Linked DNA regions of Homo sapiens: regions 1, 2, 3, 4 and 5 are each linked to region 6. Evidence: promoter capture Hi-C in human tissues and cell types (Jung and others, 2019). All regions are on one chromosome and are shown on one strand. The core of a region is centred on a gene start or on the middle of the fragment in contact, and the rest is flanking DNA. Distances in the headings are between cores, read along the strand shown. Region 1 has its middle 170 kb from the start of LINC01832. Region 2 has its middle 140 kb from the start of LINC01832. Region 3 has its middle 130 kb from the start of SPOPL-DT. Region 4 has its middle 170 kb from the start of SPOPL-DT. Region 5 has its middle 150 kb from the start of SPOPL-DT. Region 6 holds the start of HNMT (histamine N-methyltransferase).

Evidence for each region. Contacts are between HindIII fragments. The study calls those that stand out against the background at their distance.
Region 1: a fragment that was not itself captured here is called in contact with the fragment with the promoter of HNMT in region 6 in 1 of the 25 tissues and cell types used here (mesendoderm cells).
Region 2: a fragment that was not itself captured here is called in contact with the fragment with the promoter of HNMT in region 6 in 1 of the 25 tissues and cell types used here (thymus).
Region 3: a contact is called between a fragment that was not itself captured here and the fragment with the promoter of HNMT in region 6, in 2 of the 25 tissues and cell types used here (dorsolateral prefrontal cortex and hippocampus).
Region 4: a contact is called between a fragment that was not itself captured here and the fragment with the promoter of HNMT in region 6, in 2 of the 25 tissues and cell types used here (dorsolateral prefrontal cortex and heart left ventricle).
Region 5: a contact is called between a fragment that was not itself captured here and the fragment with the promoter of HNMT in region 6, in 1 of the 25 tissues and cell types used here (spleen).

What each region holds. Positions count from the first base shown.
Region 1 is chr2:138,267,883-138,270,979 of GRCh38, reverse strand. No RefSeq gene overlaps it. Among named protein-coding and RNA genes, the nearest start is that of LINC01832, 170 kb to the right of the region's middle. The HindIII fragment of the contact is 9,692 bases long and covers 1-3,097 here.
Region 2 is chr2:138,241,284-138,244,247 of GRCh38, reverse strand. No RefSeq gene overlaps it. Among named protein-coding and RNA genes, the nearest start is that of LINC01832, 140 kb to the right of the region's middle. The HindIII fragment of the contact is 6,611 bases long and covers 1-2,964 here.
Region 3 is chr2:138,373,525-138,376,826 of GRCh38, reverse strand. No RefSeq gene overlaps it. Among named protein-coding and RNA genes, the nearest start is that of SPOPL-DT, 130 kb to the left of the region's middle. The HindIII fragment of the contact is 7,053 bases long and covers 1-3,302 here.
Region 4 is chr2:138,329,135-138,332,110 of GRCh38, reverse strand. No RefSeq gene overlaps it. Among named protein-coding and RNA genes, the nearest start is that of SPOPL-DT, 170 kb to the left of the region's middle. The HindIII fragment of the contact is 3,271 bases long and covers 14-2,976 here.
Region 5 is chr2:138,353,776-138,356,943 of GRCh38, reverse strand. No RefSeq gene overlaps it. Among named protein-coding and RNA genes, the nearest start is that of SPOPL-DT, 150 kb to the left of the region's middle. The HindIII fragment of the contact is 9,390 bases long and covers 1-3,168 here.
Region 6 is chr2:137,962,873-137,965,775 of GRCh38, reverse strand. HNMT (histamine N-methyltransferase) reads right to left here and starts at 1,303. Exons shown (of 6, transcript NM_006895.3): 1 at 1,148-1,303. The coding sequence starts at 1,284. The HindIII fragment of the contact is 6,466 bases long and covers 1-2,903 here.

The sequences.
Region 1 (3,097 bases), core at 462-2,961, 300 kb before region 6:
CTGCAGTGAGCCATGATCATGTCACTACACTCTAGCCTGTGTGACAGAGGAAGAGCCTGTCTCAATAAATAAATAAAAAATGAAAAATAATGAGCCCCTGTCAAGTACATGCCAGAAGATATTTCTGCTTTAGTTAGAAGCTGTACTAGATAATCACTGATGTGATTATATAATTTCATTCTAACGTAAGTCATCTCATTTAATTCTAAGATTCTATTATTAAATAATCTGGATTTTCTAGGTTTTCATTATCTATTGAACTCTCAATATTATTGTTTTGCTATTCACTTGAGTTTACCTACAATGTAAACCATGCTGTAGCAAAACAAGTCTTAACTGGTTGCTATGATCCATATTTATAAAGAATAGAGACTGATTCCATAATATAGAAAATGATTATGGCAGCTTCAGTCTGTACGATGACTGTAGTCTATCAAAGTTGTCATATATAATCAGAGAAACAGCTTTAAGGAAACTACTTAGAAATAAAATTATTTTGTATAATGGAGTCTGGTGCTGGTAAACACGATTTGACCAACAATGGGGCAATTTAAAAAGTGTAAGTGAAATAGATTGCCAATTAGATATAGCACTTTATAAATGTGGATAATTGATCCGGAGAAACCAATAAATATCTGAAGAGCTCAATAATCACTTTAAAAAGTAATCAAGCCGTGTAATTCCTTCTGTAATTCCATCTGTAATTCAGATCATGAAGAAAATTATCTGAATCAAGAGAAAGAACACAGATATTTCAATACATCTTTTATATTACTTAATTAAGTTGGTTACCATATTGCTATAAATATACCACTTTCTACAGCTTGCTGATTATCATCATTTTGAAATGTAATCCAAGGTTAAGTAAGAGAAGGATGAGTAACATAGTTTTTTTTTTTCTTTTTGACAAAACACAATTTAAGAAAATAATTGCAAATAAGATGGAAAAGTTAAACTTATTTGATGTTCTGAATTAGAAGTATGGAAAGAGATGATGTAAGCCTGGATGGTCTTTTGTTAGTAACCTTCATTACTTGATAAATCAATCCATAATCCAAACCACAATGACATTCCTTCTGGAAAGAATGCTACACCAGTGGAAACTAATTAAAATGAAAACCCTGTCTATGAAAGTAGGAATTTATACGGAATATTTAACAAAGTGTCAAGTAGTGCTAATGAGCTGTTTTAGGGCTAATTCTGGTAACTACAGAGTGAAGTAAGGCCACATTTTCAATCCAAATGATTCACAAAGTTTACTTAGAATTCAACTTGCAAAAACTCTCATTGAATTTTTGTCTCCTCTCGTTTACCTTATCTAAACTAACTTACCTCATTCTTTTCCCACCTTGAGTTCATATCTGTATGTTACTACTACCTTGGAGAGAACAGAATATCAAAATAGGAGTCCTGCTAGAATCCATAGGGACTTCTTAGAAGACCATTAAGAGATGTTGTATGCAACATTTACCTTAAAATCCGATCTAATCAAGACTTCTTAGGGTCTTTAAAGTTCAATCTGAAAAGAGAAAAAAATCAGTTTAGAGTCAATAATACATGAATAGTGTTATTATCAGCCTTTTAATCTTTTAACAAATAGTATTTTGTAATTTATAGAAAGATAACAATCAATGATCATATAAAAAGAGCAGATGGCATTTAACAGCTAAAAGGTGACAAAATTAGATGCGCATAAAATTAGGAAAATAAATTATCATAAACATTTACAGCCATGTCCTCCAAAATTTGTACTAATTAATTTTTTAAAACTTGTGAATTTGACTAAGTATTTAATGAAGAATTAATACCAGTCCTTCACTAACAATTCAATCCTTCATTATCAAGAGAGAATACTTCCCAGTTTATTCCATGAGGCCAGTATTAGCATGATACAAAATCCAGACAAAAGTATCTTAAGAAATTAAGACGACAGACCAGTTATCTCCTGATGAGTGCAGACACAGACATTCTCTAAAAACACTAGAAAACTGAATAAAGTAATATATAAAATGAATCACATACCTCAACCTTGTGAAATTATTTTGCAAATGCAGTGATGGTTTAACATCTAAGAATAAATCATTGTAAAATATCATATTAATAGAAAAAGACAAAAATAATGCTCATCTTGATAAACACAGAAAAGCATTTGACATAATCCAACATTTAATCATGATTTAAAAAATAAACCAGCAAAATACAAATAGAAAAACACTTTCTTGCACTAAGACAACGTATCCATTACATACTGAAAGCTTATACTCAATGAAGAAATACCCCTGGGAAGTAGGACCTATCATTTCTAAATTCTACAAATTTTAATTTAGGAACTAAGTGGGTCTTAAAATGCTACTTGGTTCTGTTGATCAGGTCTCCTAAAGAAGGAGCGTAAAACCGGGCTGGTTTTCTTGGCCATGACTAGAGTGTGGTATTTTCAAAAAATATAAAGATTTAATATTTACAATGTCAGAGGAGGAAAAATACATGCTCATCTGAAAAGATGCAAAAAAAAGGTATTTTCTAAAATTCAGTATTTTATGTTGATTCAAGACTCACAAAAACTGGTAGCATTTGCATAATTCTGTAACATTATTTATCAGATAGATCTCAAAGAGAGAAGAACCTCAGCCTGTGCTGGCATACTCCTGTCTCAGTGCCATTAGGAAAAAGACAAAGAAGCCACCGTCCCCACTAATATTTATGACTGATCAGAAAAAATAAGCAAAACCTTTAGACAAAATTGGGAAATACAGAAACAAAGGCCAAGTAGCATTTTCAGATGATCTGATTGCCTGACTGAGAAACCATGGGAACAGAAAGCAGAAATAATATTGGCAACTAAATATAACATCACTCCAAGAAGTTCAAAAGACTGCACCAATTAAGCCATGTGTGGGAGAGGCATGGAATCACTAAACTGTGAAAAGGGGAATTAGAGACTTGAGCAGAGGGACCTGCTCATCCCTAGAGAAAATCTCAATATTGCAATGAAGTTATATTTTCACCCAACTTATTTTACACATTCACTTTAGTTAATTTAACATTTTCCAAGTCATATTAATGATTACAAGGTATATAGACACACACACATACATAC
Region 2 (2,964 bases), core at 100-2,599, 280 kb before region 6:
ATATTTAGTGTTTGTCTCTGGTTCCTACCACAGAGTTCCTAAAATTCTTGGATTTTCTTGAGTGATTGGAATGTTTTTTGTTATTCTAAAAAAGTCTCTTTTGATCACATTTTAGTTTGTCTAAAAATGTAATGGAGGTAGAGTCTCTAGCCTCAAGACGGGGCTGGTCACCAGGAAGATAAAGTGATTAGAAGGCTGAAACTTTGAATCCCACCCCTGGACCTCCTGGAAGTTGGGGGGAGAAGGATGATTAAATGCTATAAAAACTTTTGAGTTGCTGAGTTTTGGGGTTGGTGAACACATCCAGATGCTCTGAGGATTGCAAACCCGGAAAGTATGGAAGCTCTGTGCACCTCCCAGCTCGCCCAGTACCTTGCCCCATGCCTCTCTTTCATTTCGCTGTTCCTGAGATGTATCCTTTATAATAAGCTAGTAAAAGTAAGTATTAAATTAAGCTTAGCCTAAAGCTGCCTCCTTGCAAATTTTAAGTTTGGCCCAAAGGTTTCTCCATATGTCATGAACTGTAACCTAACTGATATGTAAACATTCTGTAACCTACTCCTGTGACAATCACTGAGCTTCAGCTAATCAAGAGTGGGTGACTGTTCAAACTAGGCTCAAATAAAGCATATACCAAGCTGTAACCAATCTAGCTGTTTCTGTAACTCACTTTTGTTTTCTGTATGTCACTTTCTTTTTTCTGTCCATAAATCCTCTCCTATCATGCAACAGCAGCAGAGTCTCTCTGAACCTATTCTTGGTCAAAGGCTGCTTGATTTGCAGATTTTTCTTTTCTCAGTTAAACATTGTGAAATTTAATTTGTCTAAGGTTTCTCTTTTAACATAAGTCAACTGTTTTCCTGAGTTCTTTCTTGCAAATTATTGAACCTGAGGAGGTGGCAATAGGAACCTCTAATTTATAGTCATTCAGTCAGAAGTACAGAAAACCTGGGACTTGCGGCTGGTTTCTGAAGTGGGGGCAGCCTTGTGGTCCTGAGACCTTATGCTGTCGTTATAGGAGTTAAAAAGAAATTATTTAGGCAGCTAGTGAGGGTAAGGAAAGTCCTTGGTAAGGTTTTCCTTTTAATGAAAAGCAGCCCCCAAATTATTTCCTTTTCTAATAAAGGGCAGCCTGTAAAATTGAGCTGCAGACCGATAAGCAAGCTGGGAGCTTGCACTGGTGAATGCGGCCGTTGTGCCAATGGGAAAAGGCTACCTGGGAGTAGGCATGTTCAAAATGGTGGCTCCATCTTCCCTTCTCTTTGCCAAGCCACGTGTACAGTAAGGCGCAGACGAGATGGCACCGGCCAAGTGGAAAGCCCATTTGGATAATAAGATCAGGATGGGTTGGTCACCCTTCTCCCAGTGCTATTTAAATGTCACACCTGATCCAACCAATCTGTGGGCCCTATGTAAATCAGACACCACCTCTTCAGGCCTGCCAATAAAATCTAGTGCAGTCCACTGCTGGATGGATTTTCTTTTGGGAAGCCCCTGTCTTGCAAGGGAGAGAGCTGTTCTCCTTTCTCTCTCTCTTTTTTTTTTTTTTTTTTGCCTATTAAACCTCCACTCCTAAACCCACTCCTCGTGTGCGTCTATGTCCTTAATCTTCTTGGTGTGAGATGACAAACCCCAGGTATCTACCTTAGACAATGATGCTGCCTCATTGTGGGGTCTGCACTAACTTTAGAGTCAGAATTTGTGCAACACTTTGTTGGTATCTGGAGGGCTGGAGAATTGGTTGATGTCAGATAAAATACCCCACAGATAAACAATAAATAATTTTTTGGTATAATTGTGTTCCAAATACTGCACGGGGCATACTTATATTTAAGAAAAATCATTTGTTGTTTACCTGAAATTCAAATGTAACTGGATATCCTACAGTTAATTTGGAAATCTTCCTTGGGCTAGAGCATGCTCTGTGCTTTAAGTTCTTCCACCTACCCACCCAAGGAAGTGGGATGCTGCCTACTTGATTTCAAATTTAAAAGAGGTGCTTCCATAGGCTAATGGAGAACTTGTTAGGTGAATGGCAGACACAATGGACTGTTCTGATATCTGCTCATGAAATCTAGAGGGCAAGGAAGGCTAGCAAGCTGCTTTGGAAGCAAAGATGTTATCGTTTTAAAATCTGTCTCCACTCTCAGGACTTACCAAGGTAGAGGATGCGTCAATCTATAAACCTGACTGGGGGCAAACAGGAGAAACAAACAAGACGAGAGCCATTTTGATTTTTATCCAAGAGGGTCACATGGGGGGCCAATGGGACTCCAATTAGTGAGTCGTAGGGGAGCAGATCACCTGAAAATCTGCACTAAAGAGGAGCAAAACCAGGGTGAGAGAATGTACTGCCCAGTGCCTGAAAGTCTCAGTCAGAGGAGATAGCACAGGTCCCTCCAAGAAATGGGAATGCCCATAAAACAAGGAAGCATTTTCAAGCATCCACCTGGCTCAGAGTGTGAAGGTAAGATACAGTATATTACTCAAATAAGAAAGTATGTTTCTTTTTCTCTTCTTCCCTCTCTCCTTCTTGGTGCTTCAACCTCTGAAGGCTCCACAAGAGCAGCTGAAGAATAAGATAAGTGAGAAAGAAGGAAGCGTCCACACAGTTTTTCCCATTGACAGAGTCATAGATGAGGAGGTTGGGCAGGTTTATGGTGAAGTCTTACTTTTGAATGAAGATCAAGCTGTTATTACAATGATAATTTTATAGTGTATATGCTATTATATAGTATATAATAATATACTATATAATATACAGTAACATAAATGTATATTGTATGATAAAAATTGTTAATGTACTGGACTGGACATTTTAAATTCCTGAATTAAGACCAAGTCCAAAATACTTCTATCATGAAAGAGTGATCAGAAAAGGCACAAGGCTTTCAGAGTTTTCTAGTTGGAGGGGATAAATCTTATGCAACTGCATAAATTCTGTGGAAGTCAACATAAAGTGTT
Region 3 (3,302 bases), core at 99-2,598, 410 kb before region 6:
CCTGGTATAGGAGAGAGTTTCTTGGCCTTCCCCAGTGGTGACAGCTCACTTCTAATGGCATGAATATAAGATCCTGAGGCTGGGCCCAAGACTGTTTCCTGGCCCTCCTCCAGGGATAGATAATTTTTCTTTTTTATTCCGTCATCAACAATAGGTTTTTAACCTGTGCCTGGGAGTGACAAGGTTTTCTGCCTCTGTTACAGAGGCTCAAGGCTTTTGTTCTTTCTGAGAGGATGATCTGGGCAGGGTGGCTGGGGTTCATGCTTTCCCCATAGTGGCTGCTCTTCCCCTTCTCCTGGCCTGTATCATCTAAGAGGGACTCTCCCCAGTTACCCACTGTGCCCCCATCTTTTTTATGAGTACCTCATGGAGGTGCCTGGAGATGAGCCTGGGGGTAAGCAGCAGCTCCTCCCATGTCTGGGGCTGCCAGGGATTCTACACTGTCACAGCAGGCCACACTCAACCTCCACCAATCCTTTAAGGTTCAGCTGGTTCCTTCTCAGCCAACTGTATGGCAACCAGTGCCTTTTTCTCCCATGCTTTGCCCTCTCTGAGCCAATCCACTGGTGCTTGATTTAATTCAATTTCCTTCAAATATAAAATAAAATTAAAAGCAATTCAACATGGCATTTTTTTTTTTTTGTGATGACAATTCCTGTGGATTCTATTTTGGGGAAACAATGGAAGGAAACATGATGGTGGAGGATCAAAGACTGAATCCCATAAGACGTGGTTCTCAAATGAGCCTCCCCTAGAATACTGGGGTATTGCTAAAAAATTTAACCACGTTGGTATCTTCTCAAAAGCTCAGAAAATATTAAGTTTATGAGTGGAATTTTCTGAATGTGAAGTTTTTGCCTCATAATTTGCTATTATTTTAATAGTTTGGTAACTGCTGCTGATTGTTTACTCGGTGTATGCAGCTAGATAAGCAGTGAGCACAAAAATGGCAATCTGGACAGCTAATGAAGCCCTTTCACCACCTCATAAGGTAATTGGGTTCATTGTAGATAGTTTTAACTTTGTAAAATATCCTTTTCTGAAAATTTCTGTGTATTCTGAGAATGTGGAGATCTGTATCATTTTAGAGATGTTAAAGAAATTTAGCATTTCCTACAGAAACTCAGGAGTTTGTGGATAAATCCTACAAAGCAAAGTGGATGATGTGGCCCAAAATTAAGATCAGTAAGAGGTCTTTGATTTCAGTCTCATGTTGTTTCTGTTACCAAGTAAATTTTTACTGTCATGGCTCATGATATTTCAAGTCATTTGAAAAGCCAAGATTTCAGCAAAGTCTGTTTGAAGACCTAAAGAGAAAACATGTTGAGCCTAAATACAAAGCTTGTACCCAATGGTTAGGGGAGGGTTCAAAAGATTTTAATTCATGCCAATTTTTATCGTGTAAAAGGAGATGGGGAGACTTCCAGGACTGATTTGAAAAGAGTTGAAACATAATCTGAAGAATTTTTAGCTTTTGTTAAATTTAATAAGTGAATAATAATTTTGCAAGGCATAAGGTGTCCATGTTTATTAGAGCTGAAGACATTCTGGGACCTAAGATCCTCCTTCAAATCTAGAGTCTATGTATATATTACTTTTATATTTAAACATATGCAATACAAATATACCTTGGTTGGTACTCATATATATATATATATATATTTTTTGTAATATTCACCACTAAAAATTTTGTTTCTAGTCGATAAAATAGACTTCGGTATGTCAATATTTCATGGTACTCCACATTGTGTGCGATTTCCATGCAACTTATCACCTGTGTTTGAGTTGGCTTCTGTGAGTTTTCACATGATTTACCTTGGATATTGGGGTGTCATCCTGAATTTTGGGCTGGAAAGTGACTGTGGCTTAATTTCCTTATCTATAAAATGGGAATGATAATCATGCCTCCTTTATAGGGCTGTTACGAGAATTAAAGAAGGCATTGCTTATAAACTCCTTGTTACAGTGTCTAGCCATAGTAAGCATTCATTAGAGTTTAGCTATCATTAATATCTGAAGTGGTCATGGGATTATTTTGCTGGTCCTGTAGAAGAGCTATACATCCTTGGTGACATTCCTCTCTTTCAAATGGAGGGAACAACGGTGAAATATTATTGGCCTATTAACTGTAAGCATTTATTTTTGTGGATCAATTGGCATAATACTCATTAATCTATGTCACAACTGTAAAATACTCTACACACATAATATGTTGGAGTTGCAAAGTTAACAACTACTCACACCTAGAAAAAATTATCATTGTTATTTTATACACCTATTATTTTAATACCAGCTGTCAAGTTTTATTTTATGCTTTTTACTGTTTTATTCTTCTTGGTTTATTTATTTTTTATTTATTGAAATGTTTAGGGTACAAGTACAATTTTGTTACATACATAAATTGTATAATAATCAAATCAGGGCTTTTAGAATATAGATTTATTTTCAATAAAAAGCTTTTCTAACCTTGAATTTAAGATACCACTTTCTATAATTTCTTTCATGTCTGACAAGCATAGGTGTTAGTGTGGTATTTTAGTGTAGTTCAGGTTATATAGTCAATTCAGTAAAGCATCTCAGAGTTCTAAAATCATCCTTTGGGTGGCAAGCCTTGGCCAGAATGTCAGTCTAATTCTGCAATGGTTTTCCAGTTATCTTTTTTCTCTTCAGAGCCAGCAGAGGGAGCACCAGTCTCTCCCTATCTAAACAATCATAATGGCTTTTAAACATATGGTGGGCCTTTCATAATTAAATTTTTAAAAAGAGATGGAGTTTAAATGAAGATATAAAACTCAAAGTATGAATGCGCATTAATTACCTTAATAATGCTGCCAAGTTTAAACTGATTCAAAATGAAAATGCTCAAGACTACAGGTCATATGGAATGAAACTGGGAGTTATCAGGTAACTTTAACACAACCTAATTTAGAAAATACTGTCAGAAGTAGAAGAGAGTAGAAGGCTAAGAATGCCTGAAATTATTTAATAAATTTTTTTTGAGTTCTTGCTATGTTTCAGATCATGAGCTAAATTATGGCATTATAAAGATGAACCAGAGTTAGTCTGGGGAGGTAGGCAGGAAAAGGTTAGGAAAAGCCACTTGAAGAAAATAATGCCTAGTTTCTAAATAAGAGTTCTAAATAAAATGTTTGTTGAATGAATGAATGCTAATAATATGTGTATTAATAATACAAAATTATCATTTTATATGACGCTTGAAAGTTATGGTGCTTCTACATACATTACTCATTTAATTACACCTAGGACAGGTTTAAGGTCTCAGAGATGGTAAATTGCATATG
Region 4 (2,976 bases), core at 400-2,899, 370 kb before region 6:
ACCCAAATGCCCATCAACCAACGAGTGGATAAAGAAACTGTGATAAATATGAATGATGGAATACTACTCGGCCATAAAAATGAATGAATTAATTGCATTCACAGTGACCTGGATGAAATTGGAGAGTGTTATTCTAAGTGAAGTAACTCAGGAATGGAAAACCAAACATCATATGTTCTCACTCATAAGTGGGAGCTAAGCTATGAGAATGCAAAGGCCTAAGAATGACACAATGGACTTTGGGAACTTAGGGGTAAAGGGTGGGAAGGGGGCCAGGGATAAAAGACTACAAATTGTGTGCAGTGTATACTGCTCAGGTGGTGGGTACACCAAAATCTCATGAATCTCATGAATACTAAATAACTTATGTAACCAAACACCACCTGTTTCCCAATAAACTATGAAAATAAAAAAAATTAATTGAAAAATAAAAAATAAAACAAGTTCTAAGAGGCTTTAAAAAAGAAAGAAAAGAAACAGGTTTCCACCCCCTACATGAGTTTCTATCTCTTACAGGTGGATATTACTATAATTAGAGGAATCCCAATGCAACTGGCCAATAAGCACATGGAAAGGTGCTCAACATCATTAGTCATTAGAGAAATCCAAATTAAAACCATGATGAGATGCCTCTTCACACCACTAAAATGGCTAAAATTGGAAAGACTGGCAATGGCAGGTGTTGGTGAGGAAATGGAGCCACTGGAACCCTTGTGCTCTTTTAATAATAGTGAAAAGTGATGCTGCTCCTGAAGCCGATGGCTTGGCATTGTTGCAAAATTAAATAAGCACTTACAATGCAATCCATTATTTCCACTCCTAGCTATTTATGCAAAAGAAATAAAAATATATTTCTACAGAAAGACATGTAAAAAAAAAAGAGCATTCATTATTGCCTTGTGTAAACATGAGCTTTGACCTGAAAAGGCTGTCCTAAGGTTTGCTTTCAGAGAAGCTTCCCTGGCACCTCTTCTAAGTCATATTTAATGTTACCTAGCAGACCAAGACCTCCAGTTTCCTTAAAGACTCTGCACCACCCTCTTAATGCTCCTATGGATGGTCCCACAAATACTTCCCTGCAAGCCCTCCACCCTGACTTGGGGCATCTGCCAGTATTCCTTTCTAATCGGCTTGGATTCCTACATGGTCTTCCTCTCGGCATGTAACATCTTACTGCCAGTGTTGTCCTGATATTGTGTTACTTCCTCCTGATGACTCTGAGAGATTTTACAAGTTCTGTGATCGCACAGAGATTTTGGATGAAACTGGACACTGTATTGTCCCCTAATTCTCTTTTCTATATGCACTAAATTTTCACACTCCCTGCTTTCCTCCCTCTCTTGCTAGCCATTCCCATTCACATTATAGCTCTTAGCCAGACCTTTGGGACCAAGGTTCCTGATTCACTCTGAAGCTTTCATCACCCAAACTTACCCTATCAGAATGAGGCTGGTCTCATACCTTCCCAGGCCTGTGATAAAGATCAGTAGGGATTGATCTATTTGTGTGCCCATTGTAGAATATACATGAAAGCTCATGCACATACACACACGACCATACACACGTGTGCTCACACACACAATGTGAATAGGTTTAACTGAAAGCTTTATACTGCCGGCATCAGAATCTATTATGTTATTCTTTAAGCAAGTCAGGAGATGGATTCAATGTCAGATTTGCTTATTACTATTCAGATAAACAGATAAATCTTCTTGCAACTAGCCATCTTCAATCTCAGGGTTTTCTTAAATGTAATGAAGTTACTATTAGACGGCAAGCTGGAGGGTTTAGCTACAGGCAGAACAGGCAGAGGAATAACTGGTGAAGCTCAGAGCTTAGAAAACTGGATGCACAATGTTTCTCTGTTGGATAAAAGACAAAATAAAGAAATCTAAATTAAAATATGCTAGGGCTAGTTGCAAGAAACTAGTTCGGGCACCTCAAACAAAATGCTTTCCTGCAATTTTGGTAACATTCTCCCAAATGGCCCTTGTAAGGTTAGCGTAAGTCCAAGAGATAAACAGAGGGTTAAGATATCCAATGCTTATGAGAAAGAAAATTATAGTATCTTTAATAAAATCACTTAATCACAACTATTAAAAAACTAGATACATGTTAACCACTAATTACCTACATTTACATATTACAAAGGAATTTTTAAGTGAATACTACAAATTGGCTTAGATAAATACCTTCTTATTTATATAAGCTTGTCTTCAATTGCTACTTAAATGCTCCTCACTCTGGTTTTCTTCCCAGAGGTCAGAGGTCTTCTCTGTCATTCTTGAAGTGGGCAGCAATGCCACAGAGGTTTCTGCAAGAATGACCTGTGCTAACTGCTTGACCTTATTTGAAATCGCTGACTCTTTAGTCTCTTTTGTGCTTCTCATGCTCCTGACTGCTGGATTTCTTCCCAGTTTTTCTTCTTTGACCCTCCATTTGATTTTACAGACAGAACCATAAATCTCCTGTCTACTCTCATTCTTTTTTCTCTTTGCTTTATTTATGTATTTAAAAATGAATAGTCTTTATTTTTTTACATGACTCTTAGGCTTACAGAAAAACTGAGGAGAAAGTAGAGAGTTTCTACATTTCATCCCCCACCCCAATCTTCCCCACTAACAACTCGGGGCACCAGAGCGGTACATTTGTTACAATCAATGAACCAATATTGACGCATCATTATCAACCAGAGTACATAGTTTACATTAGGATTCACTCTTGGTGTTGTACATTATACCAGTCTGACAGCTATACAATGACATGAATCTGTCATTATAGTATCATACAGAGTAGTTTCACTGCTCTAAAACCCCTCTGTGCTACAGCTATTCATGTCTCCCCCTACCCAACCTCTGGAAACATTGATCTTTTTGCTGTCTCCATAGTTTTGCCTATACCAGAATGTCATATAGTTAGAATCATACAGTATGTACCTTTTGAGATTGGCTTCTTTCACTCAGCAATATGAATTTA
Region 5 (3,168 bases), core at 449-2,948, 390 kb before region 6:
TTTAAGTGCCAGGTTAAACCTGTGCCAGGTTAAACTTAACAGCTGTGTGACCATAGGCAAGCTACTTAATCTTTTCTACGCCTCAGCCTTTTTCTCTGTAAAATGGGGATAATCATAATATTTAGCTCATGTCAGAGACAAAACTTTTTCAGTGACATGCTGTAACCCCTCAGTATGCACTAGCTATCATTAAGGCAGCACTTACCATGTGACGGGCTGTGCTATATTTACATCAAGATTATTCCTCACAATAGCTCATGACATTGTTATCACTAGCCCCATTTTACAGACAGCAAATTTGAGAGGCAAAGCTCTTTGCCCAAGAATACAATAGAGACAAGGTTAAACCCCTTGTTTGTCTGGCTTCAGAGCTCATGTTTTCAGCAATGTCTTATTATTGCCTCTCACCTGTGGAGTTCCTGACTTCAGTGCAGGGGATCCAGATGCTCTTTTATAAAACCGTGTGTGTGGAGCAGATTGATTCACATGGAGTTTCCAGGTTTTATTGAGGTTTCACCACGAGCCTGACATTTTTCCTGGAGCTAATCCACATCATGATTTCACAATACAGGACTGAATGCAGAGGCTGTGTTGGACTATTTTTTTCCTCCTTGTCATTTAAGGTCAGGATCGGGCACAGCATGTTGAAATATATATTGTTCACAGCCTTTTTCTGTTCACTGAACTTTCCAATTAGTGTTCACTTAAATGGATGCCGGGGAGAATTTCTTACAAGTTATGGTGTCATGTTGAATTGTGGTGATTATGAAAGCTACAGTGACAGGAAAGACCTAAGATATTTTTTTTTCTGTTCTCTCATTGCTTGGCAAAAACTGGCTGTGAAAAATAATCCTTAAGTTAAGAATTCCCTGATATAAAAGAACATTAAACCATTGTTTTGGTCATTTTGTTGTTAAAAGTTCTTCTGATTTAAATGTTCCATTTCCTTGAGTTTTGTTTTTAAAATTATAGTTGTATATGGTGCCCTTGGGGTAATGTTATATTGATTATCAAATGTCTCTGGTACATTTCTGCTCTTGGTCTATTTAAGCATAGAACAAAATAGTGTGGGTTTTCTATCTTTCATTCTAAATGTCACTTGCTGTGAGCTATTTTCTTGCACTCAGTTGCCTTCCTTTCCTTTTGTTTATCTTATTTTGCATATACTTTCAATTTTTACAAAATTGTTTATAACATGGGATTATACTGTGTTCTGCGGGTGAATTTGAACATTAGGGCTGATATTTTATTTTGTGACAGAAAGACTAGGGTAGGTATTTTTTTTCCCTTTTATTCTCCTTCAAAAAAAAATGCCCCAGTCAATGAATAATTTAAGTCCTTGAATTCTGAAGAACATATTTGAGTATTTCATGGTACAGGCATCTTTATTTTATGTTTCTTTCCCAGAGGCAGGAGAAGTACCAGGTATTATAATATGAACTCAATCAATCATGTCCTTTCCTGGGGCTGTGTGGTGATGAGAGTCTCACCTCTATGAGGATTTAATTCATGGACAGGGAGAGAATTCAAGGAAGGCCGCTATCATCCTTATTCAATCTCTATTGCTTTTTACTGGTGAGTCTAGCAGCACAGGCTTGTAGTTTCCTTATGCTGAAACTGAAAGCGTAGGTTTTCCTATGAAAATACAGTTGTCTCTGGACACTGGACCAAGGATCACTAATTCATGGTCAGGGGGTTGCAAGGGGTTGTCTGTCTAGTTCCTGCCCAGCACTATTACAGCTTTGTGATAGGGGTGAGAGTAAGGGAGTGTTTCTAATTGTATTTTGGTTCTTGTCTCCAGATCAGTTTTATCAAGATTGATTGTGGCATTTCTGGCTATCTCAATGAAAAAGAGCATGTGAAAATTAAAGAAAAGTGATGAATTTGCTCATCAGCAATTCAGAATGCAAAGGTAGCAGAGGATAATTTATACTGAATTGCAACCCCTCTCTAGGTTCAAGGCCATTTCAGGATGTGGCAGGTAGTTAGTATAGCTAGCTCGCCTTTTAGAAATAGATTGGGCTTCTTTGTAAGTTGGTTGTTTGGATTGCAGGAGGATAATAATCTATAGAAACATTAAAAATATATGGTATGTGTATTATAATTCCTAGGCTAGCCCAAAAACACCCATTTAACTCACAATGCAACTGGAGGGTGGTACAATAGTACTAATAAAACAATAACCATTTAGATTTGGAAATGTGTTTGGAATTTCAGTTACCTCCATTGTGGCCCTGGTTTTAGGATTCAGTATTTTTTTTTTCTTCGTCTCTACCAACTCCACCACTTCCCCAGCTGGCCACATAGACCATTTACTTCTTCATCACATAGTTTGAAACTCCTACACTTTGGTCTGTGCTCTGGTTTTTCTCAATTCTTTTCAGAAGTCCAATGTGCCATCTTTCTTCCAAGTTTAGGCCCTCACTTTTATCAGCTCCTCCACCTGAAATGCTTCTCCAGCTATTCATCTCTTGGCTAACTCCTATTTGTTCTTCAGTGTGGGTGTCATCTCTCTGTAAAACCTTCTGTGGTTCCTCCTTTTCATACTTCAAGACTGTCTTGGAGACTAGAACTAAAGTACAATTAGAAACCATCTTCAAACTGCCCAGAACCTCCAAGAGTATAGTTAGCCCAAGGAAGGGAGAGTGGTTAGTCAAGCTTCATACTCATGTAGGGAGACACCTGCCGTTCCCACAGGTCCTTGCTGGCACTTGTTTCTGATGAGCAACAGGCCCTGTAGAGCTATCAGAAGATGCTCTTCCACGCTCTTGATGTTGATGACAAGATTCCACCAAGGACTTCATGCATCTTTGGACTGAACTTAGCCAGATCAGTGCTAAGTTCAGTCACAGCTCTCTCACTCTTGGCTCCCAGGGGTTCAGATCCTAGTGCTCAGTCTTTCCATTTGCATGTATAGCTTCCTCCCAGGGAAATAGGAGGCCCCACAACACTAAGTCATGATTGTTTCTGTCCTACACTTCACAGATCCAGACCACTCTCTTCCTTCTCTCACTGGGGATTCACATCTAGTGGTTAAAGAGTATGTATGTTAGCTTCCCAGGGCTACCATAATAAAACAGAAAAAAATTGGTGTCTTAGAACAATAGAAATTCATTGTTTCACAGTTTTGGAGGTTAGACATCACATCTGAAATTAAAGTGTCAGCAG
Region 6 (2,903 bases), core at 54-2,553:
ACTGAAAAAGAATTGAGAAATTAACTCATTACCTTTAACTTTAGAAATGAGCAAAGAAACCCAAAGAGGTTAACTATAATTAGTTCCTAGGTAAGAAGTTCTCTATATTTGCTATTTGCTTTGATGTTTGCATCCTTATCCTATTACATATTAATTTTTAATATATAATATCCTATTTTTTGAAAGCTAACATTTAAAATCTGAATCATGTTAAATAGAAAAGGAAATAAAATTTTATGTACATCTAATAATGCCTGCTCTGGTCAGACATAGGTACTGCCCTGGTGAAAGAATTTCAGGCCTGCAATAGAGAAATTCAGCAAAAGATAAAATACCACTTTCCTTTGCTGTTTGCAAATTGGATCCATAGTCATTTCTTCCCAGTTTTCCATTATTATTTCCTGAAGTAGAATGAGTTACAGCAAATCACCCCCAGATAGGTGATTTGATTATCTTTAGCATGTGGAATCTGTTACTCTCATAATGCTTATCAGCTCTGGCACAAATTGAACACATTAATCACCCAAAAAAAAGAACTCTGCAAGAAGGATAGGAACCAGTGAGTTTCACTGATAATGGGAAAATGGTTCTTTTTTTAAGGAACACATTGCTAATATTAAGCTGAAAGAAAAAGACAATTTTGAGGAAGAGAGTGATAACTATAACAATGGATAAGGAAAATTAATTTAAATGGATATTATGAGAACTGAGGCACTCAATCCTCAGGGCAAATCGTACTTTGGCAATTATTTATATTTGATTCTAATGAAAAGCATACCAGACTCCCTTTGGGACTTTTTTGGGATGTAAAATTTGGAGGAGGGCTGAAAAATCTGAGTTCGAAGATTAGCATCTTATCTTTTCCCAAATGAACATGGATTTGTGCCTTCAAATGGTTAACGCTTATCTCTATGCAGCTGGAAATACAACACAAATGGGAGCCTTTGAGTGTTCAAAGCAAACGTGGAACCAAAGCACTGCAGGAGAAAGGCAGGGCAGGGCAGCGAGGAGGGGACGACGGGGAGCTGCTATCAGTAATTCGCCCTTATCCCTGTGCCCAGCCTGCGAGGCTGAGCGAGACCCATCTATCACTGACGCACAGCCAGTCTGAGGCTTGTCCCTTTGACAACAACGTCCCTTTTGTTACCTTCCTATTATGCCTGGCAGCTTCTTGTCCATGAATTCCTGCATGCACTGGTGTTCCGTGGAATGGTTGAGAAACCTCCGGAAAGATTCAACATATTTCCCGTGGTCAGAAAACAAGCTCCTCATGGAAGATGCCATATTTGGTTTTCTGAGAAAGACAGAGCAGGAAGCAAGGTTTAAGTTCCCCTCCTTCTCTTCCCAGTTCCCTCTTTCTTTCCCCACCCCCACCAGTTTCTATCCAAAAAAAAAAAAAAAAATGCTAAGCTTGTTTTGAATTTAACATGCCACAAAGGCTGGCTTGTAGAGCTCATTACTGAGTCAATATTTGAACGGGACTTTGCACTGATACTTTAACCCCTATACGGTTGTTTTGTAAGAAATAGAAGTATTAAGCAAGGCTGTAAATCCACTGCTAAAACTTTTCAAATTCCTGAGGTTGAAAGGTCATAAAAACAAACTGTATTCAAATCACTTCCTGTTTTGTCAGCAAAGCCACAAGTAAGTTCCAAGTGGGAAAGTGACTGTTCGAAGTGGCAAACACCAGGATAAAGAGGACAGCTACACAGCACTCTCAGAAATCTACAGCAGTGAAATCTTTAACGGAAGACTGTCATCTGCCTCTGTGCTTTCTACGGGATTGTTTTGGGCCTTTACATTCCTCAGCACTTGAATTTTCAACTTATCTGCTGCATTTCTTCAAATGCTGATTTGTTGTAACTCAGAAATTATCTTAAAAGGAAGTCACGAAGGAGGAGCCCAAGAACTCGTAGCTAGAAGGTGTCAGAAGCTGCATTTAGGGGAATGAGAGTGGTAAGAGAAGTCTTGGAGCAAGAATGCAGGACACCAGGGTAAAAGTGCAGTCCATAGAATCCTTCCCTAAGCGCGCTGAACACGACGAGGTCATAGATACTTCGCTTGGCTGGATGAGCCTTTGGAAACCCAGTGGTGTCCCCACCAGAAGAGCCAAAGCTTCAGAGTACCCACACACAGTCTTTTTCCTGGGAAGAGGTCTTTAAGAAGGTCATCCTTTATCTAATATTGGGTTGTTAATAATAGCATCCAACTCATGGAGGAGTGCTGAGGATCAAATGAGTTAACTCATATAAGTCTCTTAGAAATATGTCTGCTTAAACCGTCCCTTCTTCTAATTGAGTTCCCAAGCTGCCCTCTAAGCATTCAAAACACTTCCCAACTCTCTTTTTTTTTTTGAGACAGAGTATCGCTCTGTCGCCCAGCCTGGAGTGCAATGGTGCGATCTCCACTCACTGCAACCTCCGCTTCCTGGACTCAAGTGATTCTCCTGTCTTAGCCTCCCGAATAACTGGGATTACAGGCACCCGCCACCACGCCTGGCTAATTTTTGTACTTTTAGTAGAGACAGGGTTTCACCATGTTGGCCAGGCTGATCTCGAACTCCTGATCTCAAGTGATCCACCCGCCTCGGCCTCCCAAAGTGCTGGGATTACAGGCGTGAGCCACCATTCCCAGCCCCCAACTCCCTTTTATAAGTATGTTTTGTTCTCACTATTCTTAGAGCCAGTGCTTTTACCCCGGGGGAAAGTGTAATATCTGGACAGGCAGATTGCCATGGATGACTCTGCCCTTAATGAACTGTCTGACTTTGGCTGAAACATAAGCTGCAGTTTGCTCATCAGTAAAATGGGAATGAATTTTATCTTATAGGGTTGTACTGAGAATAATATAACTAATGTTTAAAAAGTGCAAGCCAGTCCCTCTGCAAAAAAAATATATATATA